3 separate regions of the Homo sapiens genome follow, and regions 2 and 3 are each linked to region 1. Evidence: promoter capture Hi-C in 16 types of primary human blood cells and fetal thymus (Javierre and others, 2016). All regions are on one chromosome and are shown on one strand. Each heading gives the region's core, a stretch centred on a gene start or on the middle of the fragment in contact. The rest is flanking DNA. Distances are from core to core; before and after follow the strand shown.

The links. Contacts are between HindIII fragments. The CHiCAGO score rates a contact against its expected background, and 5 or more counts as called.
Region 2: the fragment with the promoter of SIRT3 here is called in contact with the fragment with the promoter of MIR210HG in region 1 in 1 of 17 cell types (erythroblasts); the score reaches 5.6 in erythroblasts.
Region 3: a contact is called between the fragment with the promoter of AP2A2 here and the fragment with the promoter of MIR210HG in region 1, in 1 of 17 cell types (neutrophils). The highest score is 7.7, in neutrophils.

The regions. Positions count from the first base shown.
Region 1 is chr11:566,341-570,734 of GRCh38, reverse strand. It overlaps MIR210HG (MIR210 host gene), which reads left to right and starts at 2,278. Exons shown (of 2, transcript NR_038262.1): 1 at 2,278-2,383; 2 at 2,882-4,394. It overlaps MIR210 (microRNA 210), which reads left to right and starts at 2,537; the gene lies at 2,537-2,646. RefSeq lists enhancers at 596-1,346, 3,932-4,394. The HindIII fragment of the contact is 23,407 bases long and covers 1-4,394 here.
Region 2 is chr11:234,583-238,951 of GRCh38, reverse strand. It overlaps SIRT3 (sirtuin 3), which reads left to right and starts at 2,610. Exons shown (of 7, transcript NM_012239.6): 1 at 2,610-2,904. The coding sequence starts at 2,624. PSMD13 (proteasome 26S subunit, non-ATPase 13) reads right to left here and starts at 1,976. Exons shown (of 13, transcript NM_002817.4): 1 at 1,808-1,976. The coding sequence starts at 1,902. RefSeq lists enhancers at 1,725-1,964, 2,125-2,314 and a silencer at 2,465-2,544. The HindIII fragment of the contact is 9,250 bases long and covers 1-4,369 here.
Region 3 is chr11:922,826-927,464 of GRCh38, reverse strand. AP2A2 (adaptor related protein complex 2 subunit alpha 2) reads right to left here and starts at 1,595. Exons shown (of 22, transcript NM_012305.4): 1 at 1,377-1,595. The coding sequence starts at 1,443. RefSeq lists a silencer at 1,244-1,783. The HindIII fragment of the contact is 10,180 bases long and covers 1-3,069 here.

The sequences.
Region 1 (4,394 bases), core at 1,029-3,528:
ATCACCACGCCCGGCTAATTTTGTATTTTTAGTAGAGACGGGGTTTCTCCATGTTGATCAGGCTGGTCTCGAACTCCTGATCTCAGGTGATCCACCCTCCTCGGCCTCCCAAAGTGCTGGGATTACAGGCATGAGCCACCGCGCCCGGCCTTCTCTCTTTTTTTGTGTTTTTTGTTTGTCTGTTTGAGACAGAGTCGTACTCTGTTGCCCATGCTGGAGTGCAGTGGCGTGATCTCAGCTCACTGCCAACCTCCCAGGTTCAAGCGATTCTCCTGCCTCAGCCTCCCAAGTAGCTGGGATTACAAGCTCACACTACCATGCCCGGCTGATTTTTTTGTATTTTTAGTAGAGATGGGGTTTCACTATGTTGGCCAGGCTGGCCTCAAACTCCTGGCCTCAGGTGATCTGCCCACCTCGGCCTCCCAGAGTGCTGGGATTACAGGCTTGAGCCACCACACCCGGCCTGTTTTCCCTGTCTTTTATAAGGACACTGATCATTGGATTTAGGGCCCACCCAGAAAGTCCAGGATGATCTCGTTTCAAGATGTTTCCCTTAATGACATCTGCAAAGATGCTTTCTCCCGATGAGGGCACATTTAGGAAGCCTGGGTATTAGGATGTGGATATATCTTCTTTTTGGCGGAGGGACCATCCCACTCACTACAGATGCTGAGAAAAGGTGCCTGTGAAATTGGCAGGACTGGGGGCAGAAGTGGGTTCACGTCAGCAGGGCACGACAGGAACACAGAGCTGCCCTGTCCTCTTGCCCCTTCTTGTCCCCTAGTCTGACTGCCCTAGGAGCCTCTGCCCTGCCATGAAGACGTGGGCCTTCTCAGGGACCCCACTGACTCTTAGAGGCTCCTTCACGACCCACAGGATCGAGGTCTTGCTGACCCCTGACCCCCAATAGAACCGAGTGGCTCCGTGATCCTCTGGGCACCTTCCCCATCCACAGGCAGCCACAGGTGCAAGGAGCCACTCGGTTCTATCGGGGGCCAAGGGTCAAGGGGTCAGCAAGACCTCGGTCATGTCTTGCTGATCATGTCTGAGTCACCCCAGACTCTGCATCTGAATTTTTGTCCCCAGCCTTCAAGCCCCTGAGGACATGGGCTGGTTCGGAAGCTCCCTGGGGCCCCAGCACTTTGCCGCCGGGGCTGGGGCAGGGGGCAGGCTGCGGCCCAGGCCTGCGCGGATGCCGAGGCAGGGAGGTCATGGGGCCAGGGGAGGACAAAGAGCAGGGCGGTGAGTTTAGGGCCAGGGAGCTGAGGGGAGACGGCCCGGGGCCGAGGACCAGGGTGACAGTGCCAAGGGGGGCCGGCGGCCAAATCTCCTTTGGCTGCCACTTTGGAGCCCCACCCCGGAGTCCGATACTTCCACGTCTGAAGCTGGCCCTGCGAGTCCTAACGAAGGTCAAACCGTCAAGGCTCCTTTGATTTTACACGTTTTCAGCGCACAGACAGGATTCTCTCGCCTCGTCCCCTCAAAGACCGGCACAGGGCTGCGAAGACCCCTGAGCCCTTGAGGCACCCCCTCCAGGCTCCAGAGGCTTCCGCGGAGACAGAGCGCGCAGGAGGGACCCAGAGCCCCCAAGGGCGCCCCGTGGGGGTCGCCAGGCAAACCAGGCAGAGCCAGAGCCCCCTCTTCGCCAGCAGGACGGACCCGGGCGTCCTTTGGGGACCCCAAGCCGCCCGGGGGGTGGTGCGTGCGTCCCGAGGACGCCGTGTCCGGGCCCGCGCAGGCCCCACCCGGGTCACGGCCCGGGATACGTGCGCCGGGCGCCCAGCGGGTTGGGGGGGGCGGGCCCGCGGGACGCGGGTGCGGGGCACGGAGGCGGCCGGGTCGTACCACCGCGCCGCGGGAAGAGGGGCAGCTCCCGGCCGGCCCTGCCGCCCCACGCACACCCGCGGGCGGAGGACCCGTCGCCAGGCTGCGCCCCACGCCCAGCCCGGAAGCCCCGCGAGCCCGGGCCATACCACCGCGCGGCGGGAGGAGGACCACCTCGGGCCGTACCATCCGCCCGGCCGGGGGACGCGCCCTGGCCCCGCCGCGCCCTCGCAGCTGGCGCCCCGCAGGCCCCGCCCGGCAGGTGCCGCCCCTCCCCGGGCAGACGTGCAGAAAAGAACGCGCCGGCCTCGCCCGCGAAGGGCCGCGCGGCGGTGGGCGGGGCGTCGCGAACCCCCCTCGCGCCCACTGGCTGCGTTGCGGTAGGGCGGGCCCGGCTAGGCCGGCCATTGGCTGAGGGACCAGGTCATTTGCATACGGGGCTGGGCGTGGAGCCGCGGGGCCCGGGGCCGGTCGGGTCGGGCCGGGGGGCGAGAGGGTGCCAGCGGCCGCAGCTGAAGTTGGGCCGAGAGCCGGCGACGGCCCCGCGCCGGGGTCGCAGGTGACGCGCGAGGGATCCCAGGTTGGCGGGCGGGGCGCCCCTCAGAGGCCGCCCTCCCGCGGGGGCTGCGGGGGGTCGGGCTGGGCAGGCGCGGCGGGGCTCGGACGCCCAAGTTGGAGGGGACGGGGGTGGGGTCAATCCCTCCGCCCGCCCACCCGGCAGTGCCTCCAGGCGCAGGGCAGCCCCTGCCCACCGCACACTGCGCTGCCCCAGACCCACTGTGCGTGTGACAGCGGCTGATCTGTGCCTGGGCAGCGCGACCCTCCTGGCCCCGTGTCCGGGTCTGGCGGGCAGGCGAGCGGCCACACGGGGACGCGAGGGCAGCTGGATACCGTGGGGAGGGGGTGCCCTATGGACGGGGTGTGCCTGTCTGGCCAGCAGGGACGGCGGGTGGGGGTAAGCGAAATCATTCGGGGGCTTTGCTGCCCTCCGCTTGGTGGGGCTGAGGCTGGGCCAGATACCCTCTTGGAGGGAACTTTCTTTTCCTTGTGTGTCCAGGGTACCAGTGTGCGGAGTTCCTGTTGCCAAGCTGAAGGTGGCCCTGGGCAGGCACAGGTGTGGTCATATCTTCAGCCAACAGGACCATCCTCCGGAGGGCCACCTCTGGGGACTTCCTACGGGAAGAGAGTGACAGATTTGGTGCTTCTGTGTGTTTCTGCCGCTTCAGTGGGGCCGCTGCGGGAGACAGCGGGTGGATCCTCCAGCAGCCTGTCTGCTGAGCCTGCCTTCTCAAGTCTACTGTTAAAATCAGGACCGGGTCGTGTCCGAGCCTACAGGCCCTGTCTCCGCTCCCCAGGCCTGCAGGAGTTGAGGGCTGCACCTGCTCGCTGGAGAGGGAGAGGCAGATTTAGTGGACGCCTGGCATGGACTCGGACTGGCCTTTGGAAGCTCCCTGCCCTGACGGGGTTGCCTGTCACCACTGCGAAGTGAGGCTTGGCAGGACCTGCACCTGAGAAAGGCTGTGTGTGGTCTTGGGGTCCACACCTGCAGAGCTAACTTACTGCCAGACGGCGACTTACTGTGGGCCACCCTCAGTGAACCGGGGTGTCCTCAGCTGGCCCTACAGAGCACTTCTGTGCTGGGGATGAGTAGGAACTCTGGGCGAGGAGGGTCCCAGCGCCGCCCCTCGATACAGCCTGGCTCTGCCCTCTGCCCGTACTTACACCAGGTGGGATCCCTGCCCTGCATTGCCTGGGGATTGGCTGGGCTTGGGCCCGCCCTGCTGTGGAACTGGATGTTTTCAGGGAGCCCAGCCTTTCCTCATGTCAACACAGTTCACAATATAGTTTTCAAAGTACAGTTTAAAACTCAAAAGTAAACTTTTCAGCAACTCAAAGGTTTGCTGAGTGATCTGAAGCACTCTGGCCACTTTTTGGGGCCATGGGATTTGGTTCACCTGAAACAGCCAGTGAGAGGCCGGGTGTGGTGGCTCACACCCGTAATCCCAACACTTCAGGAGGCAGACGCGGGTGATCGCTCACTTGAGATCAGGAGTTCAAGACCAGCCTGGGCAACATGGTGAAACCTCGTCTCTACTAAAAATACAAAAATTAGCTAGGCATGGTGGTGGGCACCTGTAATCCCAGCTACTTGGAAGGCTGAGGCAAGAGAATCGCTTGAACCTGGGAGGTGGAGGTTGCAGCGAGACGAGATTACGCCGCTGCACTCCAGCCTGGGTGACGAGAGACTCTGCCTCAAAAAAATAAAAAAATGAAACAGCCAGTGAGGAGGAAGGCTCCCCGCCTTCCCCCCGCCGGAACATAGCCATAGCTGCTGCTGGGACACCCTCTTGGTGGGGAAGAAGGCTGGTTAGCTTCATCAGAGCCAGCAGCAGCAGACCAGGGACGGGCACCTAGGCAGTGGCCTCAGAGTGAACAGGAGTTCCTCAGAAACACACACAGGGACGGCGTGGCGCATGCTCTGCCAGCTCCATGCCTCCTTCCCATTGTGGGGCTGGGGTACGTAGGGCAGAGCTCATGACCTCCGGGAGGACATGGGGGTGGGCTCTGGA
Region 2 (4,369 bases), core at 1,361-3,860, 330 kb after region 1:
CAGACACCTCCAGCCTTGATGATTCTATCAAGTCACAAATACAGGTTGGGTATCTCTAATCCAAAACTCCAAAACTCCAAAATTCAAAATGCTCCAAAATCCAAAACTTTTTGAGCACCAACATAGGGCTCAAAGGAAATGACCACTGGAGCATCTCAGATTTCAGATTTTTGATTTATGGATACTGAACGGGTAAGTATATATCGCAAATATTTCAAAATTTGAAAAAATACTAAATCCAAAAAAACTTTTGCCCCAATGCATTTCTTTCTTTCTTTTTTGAGACAGAGTCTGACTCTGTTGCCCAGGCTGTAGTGCAGTGGCGCCATCTCGGCTCACTGCAACCTCTGCCTCCCAGGATCAAGTGATTCTCCTGCCTCAGCCTCCCGAGTAGCAGGGATTACAGGCATGAGCCACTGCGCCCGGCCGCCCCAATGCATTTCTGATAAGGGATACTAAATCCATACTAACCAGTCTCTACGGTGTAGCAGAAAGAATGCTAAAGCAGATGTGATAAACCTGAGTTCTTTTCCTGGCTCTGCTATTGAATGGCTATGTCACTTTGAGATCACTTAACTTCTCTAAGACTCAGTTTTCCCAGGTATGAAATGGAGAACATTAATCTAGATTAACTCAAAGGGTTATTGTGAGGTTTCACTGGAAACGAGAACTTTGGAATCATACATATCTAACTTGAGATGCTGGCTCTTCTACCTATTAGCTGAGTATCTCAGGGAAGGCAATTAAAATGAGCTTCAGTTTCCTCCTCTGTGAAAAGGATGAATAAAGGATTAAATAAGCTAATATTTAAAACCTCAGGGACAGTGACATAGCGCTTCATCCAAAACCCAAAGGCTAATATTTAATAACGCAGATAAAATGCTTTGAAAATTACCAAGTGCTATCCAACACAAACCATTATTTGCCAAACATTAATTTGCTCTCAAAAACTGCTAATAGCAGAAGGCTGCTGAATGCTAAACATCATCAAAACATGTATGGAACATCTATGTGAAAGGTATTATATTAAATGCTAGGGTTAACAGGGAGGTTACTACAGGAGATGTATTTTCTATGGAATAGCTCCAGCCCAATGCCAGCAATTTATTCTACTCATATTAAAAGGAGGTTAGTGCTTAGCAAGAATTTAATTGCTCTGCAATTCATCCTGTTTCTAAACAAACCTAAACTTTAAGATCTTTCTAGGGGCAGAAAGCCCATGAGAAATACAATGGAAGGTAAAGACAATGGGACGGCGGAAGTGGTTGCACCCCGTGCAACCAGCTGCAGAATGAATAGGGAAAACAGCAAAGCTGTACTAGCCTCTGGTTTATCAACTCCAGACCATGAGAAAGATAACTGTAGATACAGTTACACTATGACAAGGCTAAGCACGAATCACCAACATGTTTCCCAAAGTGGGTGGTGGCCCTGAAAGTGTGTTTGCTTGTTAGATGGAATCAAGAGCTAAAATCAAAGGCTACTCCTGAACCGTTTTAGTAAGACCCGAGGTAGGAGTTCAGAAGCCTCAGTCTCAGTCCCCCGTTAAGGAAGCAGTGAATCTCAGACCGAAACATCCTGGCTACAGCTCTTGGCCCTCGTGGTCTGTCATCCCTCTTATTCCTCGACCCTGCCACTCAAGGTTCCTCAGCAAACCTTGCCGGCACAGCCGGTCGCTACACGTCCCCGTTTCCCCCCAACTTGGGTCTGGGCGCCCTCAGCCCATCAAGGGTCCGCTCCTCCGCCCGCCTGCCCCCTCCGTCTCCCTCTATCGCCGGGGCCCAGGGCCCGTCTGCTCGGCGCTCACTTCTTCGTGTAGAGCTCCTCCAGACGGTGCCACACAGCGGGCTGCCCGGGCCCGGAGTTCTGGCTCTGCTGTAGGAAGCCCGGTACGTCCTTCATGACAGCAGGAAGACCCCCGGCACAGAAGAACAACCGGGATGTCAGCACCGCGGGGATGGCTGCCGGAAATGCTCACTCACTTCCGGCGCCGAGCGGCGCGGGGCAGGCTGGGAGCGCCGTAGCAGGCCGGGGGCGGGCCCCGCTGGTTGCTCGGTTACAGCGCGTCTCTGCGCTCCGGACAAAACTCTCCGGCGTTTGCAGCCCACTTCCCGCGCACTTGGCTGTGCCATTGAGGCGTCAAAGAGTGTGGGCGCCTGTGGTCGAACCCGCTACGGACTAGCTTTGTGGTGTCAGCCTTTGTGACCCGGAATTGCTCCTGTCAAATGAGGATCTTCCCAGTAGTGTTTTGCGAGGATTAGGTGTAAATATAATGCCTGACCATAGTAAAAGCGCTCAGAAAGTATTAACTATCACCGCCATCCGGGTTGAAAAAGGTGTGAGCGCAGGGTACAGAAATGCTGGCTCCAGGTTTGACCTCCGGGGCGAGAGATGAGACACCAGACTAGGGAACTTCCTCTACTCGCCTCTACGTCTACCTGGGCGCGCCGGAGGCGTCGGCAAGGAGGCGGGGGCGGGGCGCGGAGGCGGGACCGGGGCGCCGGGGGCGGGGGCGGTAGGCGGAGGCGGGGCTGGGGCGCCGGGGGCGGGGGTGGGAGGCGGAGGCGGGGCCGGGGCGCCGGGGGCGGGGCGAGTCCGGAGGACTCCTTGGACTGCGCGGAACATGGCGTTCTGGGGTTGGCGCGCCGCGGCAGCCCTCCGGCTGTGGGGCCGGGTAGTTGAACGGGTCGAGGCCGGGGGAGGCGTGGGGCCGTTTCAGGCCTGCGGCTGTCGGCTGGTGCTTGGCGGCAGGGACGATGTGAGTGCGGGGCTGAGAGGCAGCCATGGGGCCCGCGGTGAGCCCTTGGACCCGGCGCGCCCCTTGCAGAGGCCTCCCAGACCCGAGGTGCCCAGGGCATTCCGGAGGCAGCCGAGGGCAGCAGCTCCCAGTTTCTTCTTTTCGAGGTATTTTGGGCAAGGACAAGCACTTCTTGCGTGTTCGTTGTCGACACCTCGCCCACTCTTTCTCACCTTGCCGTGTTTCCTTTGCGGCATGTCTGGGAGTTTACGTGCGTTCCAACACCGGGGCCTCCGTCTTTATGCTGATCTGTGGACGTCACTTATGGGGGTTTTGTCGTTTATTTCACCATTCCCTCATTGAAATACGTTCTAACCTTTAGTTATTGTGCATCATGCTGTGGTGAATAACCTTGTTGGCACCTCACTGTTTGCATAAATTCCTAGTACTGGGATTGCTAGGTCCAAAAGTATATGCATTTAACGCTTTAATGATCCCTCATAAATGTTGTGCGGTTAATACTCCCACTGGCATGTGATCGTACCCGTCTCCATAGTAATTGCATCTAAGAACTGAGGCTACATAGGAAAAAATCTTAAGGTCCATGGTTGTTAGGTATCAGATGCCCTATAATGGATGAATATTTAAGTAAATAATGGCACATTGACTTGCTGTCTGACACAACTGCTGAAAATGTTGGTGAAAAGTGAGTCTCGAAGTGGTAGCTCACACTTGTAATACCAGCACTTTCGGAGGCTGAGACGGGGATCGCTCGAGGCCAGGAGTTCAAGAGCAGCCTGGGCAACATAACGAGACCCCCATCTCTACCAAAAATTTAAAAATTAGCCGGGCATGGTGGCGCAAGCCTGTTGTCCCAGTTACTCCTGAGACTAAGGCAAGAGGATCCCTTGAGTCCAGGAGTTCAAGGCTGCAGTGAGCTATGATTGAGCCACTGCACTCCAGCCTGGGTGACAGAGCAAGACTCTTATCTACCTGTGGGAAAAAAAAAAGAAAAAAGTTTAATAGATCCTGAAGAGTTGGCCGGGCGCGGTAGCTCACGCCTGTAATCCCAGCACTTTGGGAGGATGAGACGGGTGGATAACGAGGTCAGGAGTTCGAGACCAGCTGGGCCAACATGGTGAAACCCCATTTCTACTGAAATTACAAAAATTAGCCGGGCGTGGTGGCGGGCGCCTGTAATCCTAGCTACTCAGGAGGCGGAGGCAGGAGAATCACTTGAACCCGGAAGGCAGAGGTTGCAGTGAGCCGAGATGGCACCATTGCACTCCAGCCCGGGCGAAAGAGCAAAAACTCCGTCTCAAAAAAAAACAAAGATCCCGAAGAGTCAGTCGTTCATCCAAGAAGCCCTGACTGAGCTCTTATTCTGTGCCAGACTCTGTTCTAGGTGCTATGGATGGAGCAGGGACCAGGACCTACAAACACGTGGAGCGCATTCTAATATCTGTGATACTCTGCAAAACTGTTAAAACAAATCCTTGCGGCCGGGCGCGGTGGCTCACGCCTGTAATTCCAGCACTTTGGAAGGCCGAGACGGGCGGATCACGAGGTCAGGAGATCGAGACCATCCTGGCTAACACAGTGAAACCCCGTCTTTACTAAAAATACAAGGAA
Region 3 (4,639 bases), core at 346-2,845, 360 kb before region 1:
TGTGGGAGAACCACTATCCTCCTGATCCTCCATCCCGTCTAAGGAGATGAGAATTCAAAGGGAAGATCACAACAGTCCCTCAAAATACACATTAAAAATTATGAGGGTGCCGTGGCTCACGCCAGTAACCCCAGGACTTTGGGAGGCCAAGACAGGTGGATCACTTGAGCTCAGGATTTCGAGACCAGCCTAGGCAACATGGCGAGACCCCCCCATCTCTACAAAAAACACGAAAATCAGCCAGGCATGGTGGTGGTGCACGCTTGTAGTCCCAGTGACTCCGGAGGCTGAGGTGGTAGGATCACTTGAGGTGGGAGGTTGAGTGCGCCGTGATGGAACTACTGCGCTCCAGCCTGAGAGCCAGAGCAAGACCCTGTCTCAAAAAAAAGAAAAACAAAAATCATGAAGTCAACTATTTGCTGGATAACAAGGAAAAAAATCAACGCAGCAGACAGGAAACTGGCTTTGTTTCTCCCTCAAATTAAATAAGGAGATGGCCTCTGAAAGCCAAGAGGAGGTTCTGCACACCAAAGTCAAATTAATTGGTGGACCGGTGCACCCACCCAGCCACCCTGCACATCCTTCTAACAGGCCCAGCCTTCCTGGCTTGTTTAACGGTTTGGTGTGGATTTTTCCCACCCCGAGGGGACAGGCACGGGGCTGAGAACGAGGTCTGTGATTGGAGCAGCAGGCAGCGAGGCCATCCCACACCCCGACTGCTGCTCGTGTCCAGATTCCCTCCGGGAATGAGTCATTTTAATCGTCGTAGGTGAGATCTAATCAGGGGTTAATAAGCCTCCAGAACCCAGGTCACAAAGCTGTTTCCTGGGAAGACACTGATTTCCAGATTTCTGCTCCCAAAGCTAAAATCCACGCCGTTTTGGAAAACGCTGGGTTAAACGCTCCAGTACTAGAAAGACCAAGGTGACATCATGCTGGGGAGGGGCGTCTTGGCCCGGAACCCCCTTGGTGGTGCCGCAGCCCCCCGCACGGACCAGCAAACGGGAGTGGAGATGTGGATGAAGGGCCGTGCCCTAAACCCCTAGACCCCGCACCCCTAGACCCTGGACACCCCACCCCGCACCCCCAGACCCAGGGCCCCGCTCTGCATCCTGACCCGCACCCCCATACCCGATACCCCAAGACTCTGAGCGCCGCCCGCACCCCCAGACCCTGGACCCCCACCCCGCACCCTGGCCCCCACCCCCAGACCCGGTACCCCAAGACCCCGAGCGCCGCCCGCACCCTCAGGCCCCGGGCCCCGCCCGCATCCCAGCCTGCACCCCCGCCTCGAGGCCCCGCCCCGGGCCTCCGCTCCCAGACCCCGTCTCCGCCGGCGGCCCCGGCCCCGGCCCCACGCCGCCCCCGCCACTCACAGTTGCGGATATCCGAGATGAAGACCGCCAGGCCCCGCATCCCGTCCCCCTTGGACACGGCCGGCATCTTCCGACGCTCGGGAGCGGCCTCGGCTGGCGGACCCGGGCGGAGGAGCGCGGGGAGCGGGAAGCGGGGAGTGCGGTCGCCGTCACCGCCGCGGAGGAGCCGCCGGGGAGCCGCCTAACCACGGCCGCCTCAGGGTCCCAGCGCCGCTTTCTGGGCCGCCGCGCGCGCGCACGTACGGCGCCCGCACCAGCACGCACGCGCACGCACGCGAGCGACGACGGACGGCGGCCGGGGCGGGTGTCGCGTGAGGCAGCGCGCGCGCGTCCGCGGCACGGGGGCGAGCCGGTCGAGGCAGGCGCGGGGGCGCCCCCTGCAGGCGGACACCATGGACGGAGCCGCTGAAGCCACGCGTTCGCGTCCCGGGGCCGCGCCAAGCTGGCGATGCCGCCCGCGTCCCCCACGGGAAGGGCGTGGGTCCGGGCGGGAACCCGCGTGTGCAGCGGGCCGCCTCTGTCGTTGTTGGTGGTCACTGCAAAAGAGGCGGCCACGCAGGCACACGCGTACGGCCTCGTCCTGGGCCTCGGCCCCGCTAGCTTGCCCCGAGCAGTCTCCGTTTTCTTACTTGGAATAAACGACCTGTGAGCGCTGGGCGGCGGGGCAGCTCCGAGGCCAGGGCCTTGTTTGTTCCGCGGGGGCCGGGGCGGGAGGGCGGCGCCGGGAGGAAGCTGGGGCTCCAGGCGAAGGGGTCACAGCCGCTGGACGGCCTTTGGCGAGGAAACCCTCCCCTAGCACGGTATCCTGAGACGGTGGGGCTGGCCCGCCCCTCCTGCCGCCCTGAGCCGCCAGGGCCACATCTCTTGCGGTCCCTGAGCTGGGGGCGAGGCAGGCCCCGTGCCCGACCCAGCCCAGGGTCTGTGTGGCAGCCCAGGTGCCCCCTCCACATCACCTGGGCCTGCAGAGAAACAACCACCCACCCCACCCCAGTGACAGCGGCCGGGGGCGGCAGCCCCTGCGGAATCTAGTCCCTCGGCGGCGCCAGGACTTTTGGCCACTGTTGCCAGGGCCCCCTCTGCTCCCCAGCCCTCTGCACCACTGCAAGCTGGAGGCCTAGGCCCACCCCTGTGGACACATCGCAAGGGAGGACCTGCTGGGCCAGGCTGCACAGCTCCAGGTCCCGGCCAGGAAGAGACCCCAGGGAGTGGGGAAGCAGATGGCCCTGCCTCACTGTCCTTCCCAGAGCCAGATGGCTTTGAACAGGAAGCTCCCTCCTGCTGCAGTGGGGGGATCTGGACCCTGTACCTGGAACTGGCCCAGACCCACCAGCCAGGGCTTTGTCCCCACCCTGGCTCACTTCCGCAGCCCCAGATGAGAGCTTAGCCCTGGTGGAGCCCGGCCAGGAGGAGGGCACAGGACCCATGCCCCTCCCCAATGAACCGGGTGCCGCACCCAGGCTCTGGGCCTCCAGAACTCCTGGGGAAAACCAAGATCTGTGACAGACCCCAGTCAGCATAAGGCAACCAAGTCCATCACTTCCCAAGACAGAGGCACGGAGCCGACCCAGCAGAGGGCTTCCTGGAGGACGGTACACCCCTCCGGAGTCCCTATCCTCTCCCAGTGCCACCTCCTGGCAGAGAAAGTGGTCCCGGGGCTGTTCATTCTTCAGCCTCTCCCTTCCACCAAGAAGCTTCCCTCCCCTGTCCCTGACAACAAATAAAGGCCATTCTGGACACAAGAGCATCTTGTGCCATGTGAGGGGTCCTGGGCTGCTCTCCAGGACAGTCCCAGCAGTCACGAGGACCGTCCACTAACACACGTGGGCAGAGCATGGGCTCTGGGCGTCAGGAGGCTGGCATGCCTAATCCAAGCTCCCATTGGCAGTGGCAGTGCAGAAGACCGAGACAAGCAGACCACTGTGCCCCCCCACCAGCAGCCACTCACAGAGCAGGGCAATGGGGGTGCTGCAGGGGCTGCCCACAGGAGGGCTTGGGCCTGGCAGGCATCCCCCTCCGCCCACTCGGAAGACTCCTCCTCAGTGCCAGCTCTGGGATTCCCACAGACATCCTCCCGTCCACACAAGAGTGTTTAGGGGTCCCAGAAGGCCCGACATGCAGCCATGCAAAAGACTTCCCACCTCCTTCCAGCGTCGTTGCCCTTGCAGACACGCAAGCCCTCCAGATGATTCACTCCAGTCCCAGCCTTGGGTCTGAGTCCATGTGGGCCTCTCTGACCACTGCCACTCCTCGGCTCGGGAGAGGCCAGCTTCGGGAGTGCGCAGTCCTAGGAAACAGTTTCTTTTTCTTTATTTTATTTTTTGTAGTGATGGCATTTCACCACGGTGCCCAGGCCGGTCTTGAACTCCTGTAATCCCAGCATTCCGCCTGCCTGTGTCTCCCAAAGTGCTGGGATTACAGATGCAAGCCACTATGCCTGGCCTATTTATTTATTTATTTATGTTTAATTTTAGAGACAGGGTTTCTCCCTTTGACTCCCAGGCTGGAGTGCAGTGGTACAATCATGAATCACTACAGCCTCGACCTTCTGGGCTCAAACCATCCTCCTGCCTTGGCTCCCAAAGTGCTTAGACTGCAGGTGCACGCCACCACACCTGGCTAAGTTTCTGATTTTTGTGGAGATGGAGTCTCACTATGTTGCCCAGGCTGGTCTTGAACTCCTGGGCTCAAGCAGTCCTCCTGCCTTGGCTTCCCAAAGTGCTGAGATTACAAGCCACTGTGCCTAGCCTCAGTATCTTTCTTTTTTTTTTTTTTTCTTCCTTGAGATGGAGTCTTGCTCTGTCGCCCAGGCTGGAGTGCAATGGCATGATCTCGGCTCACTGCAACCTCCACCTCCCGGATTCAAGCGATTCTCCTGCCTCAGCCTTCTCAGTAGCTGGGATTACAGGCACGCACCATCACGCCCGGCTAATTTTTTGTATTTTTAGCAGAGGTGGAGTTTCACCATGTTGGCCAGGATGGTCTCAATCTCCTGACCTCATGATCCGCCCTCCTCGGCCTCCCAAAGTGCTGGGATTACAGGCGTGAGCCACCGCGCCCAGCCATTTCTTAAATTATTTGAACGTTTGTCATACTTTAGCCACGCAAGGTCACAGTACTATTCCCAAGGGCAGAGGTGGGGACGAGTCGCTTTCCTTCATCCACAGCCATGGGGAAGCCAGGGTCCACAGATACAAGCCCGACGTGGGCATCATGAAGGGAAAACAGGCTGGGGCCCCAAGCTGCGGTGTGGAGGTGCTGTCTCA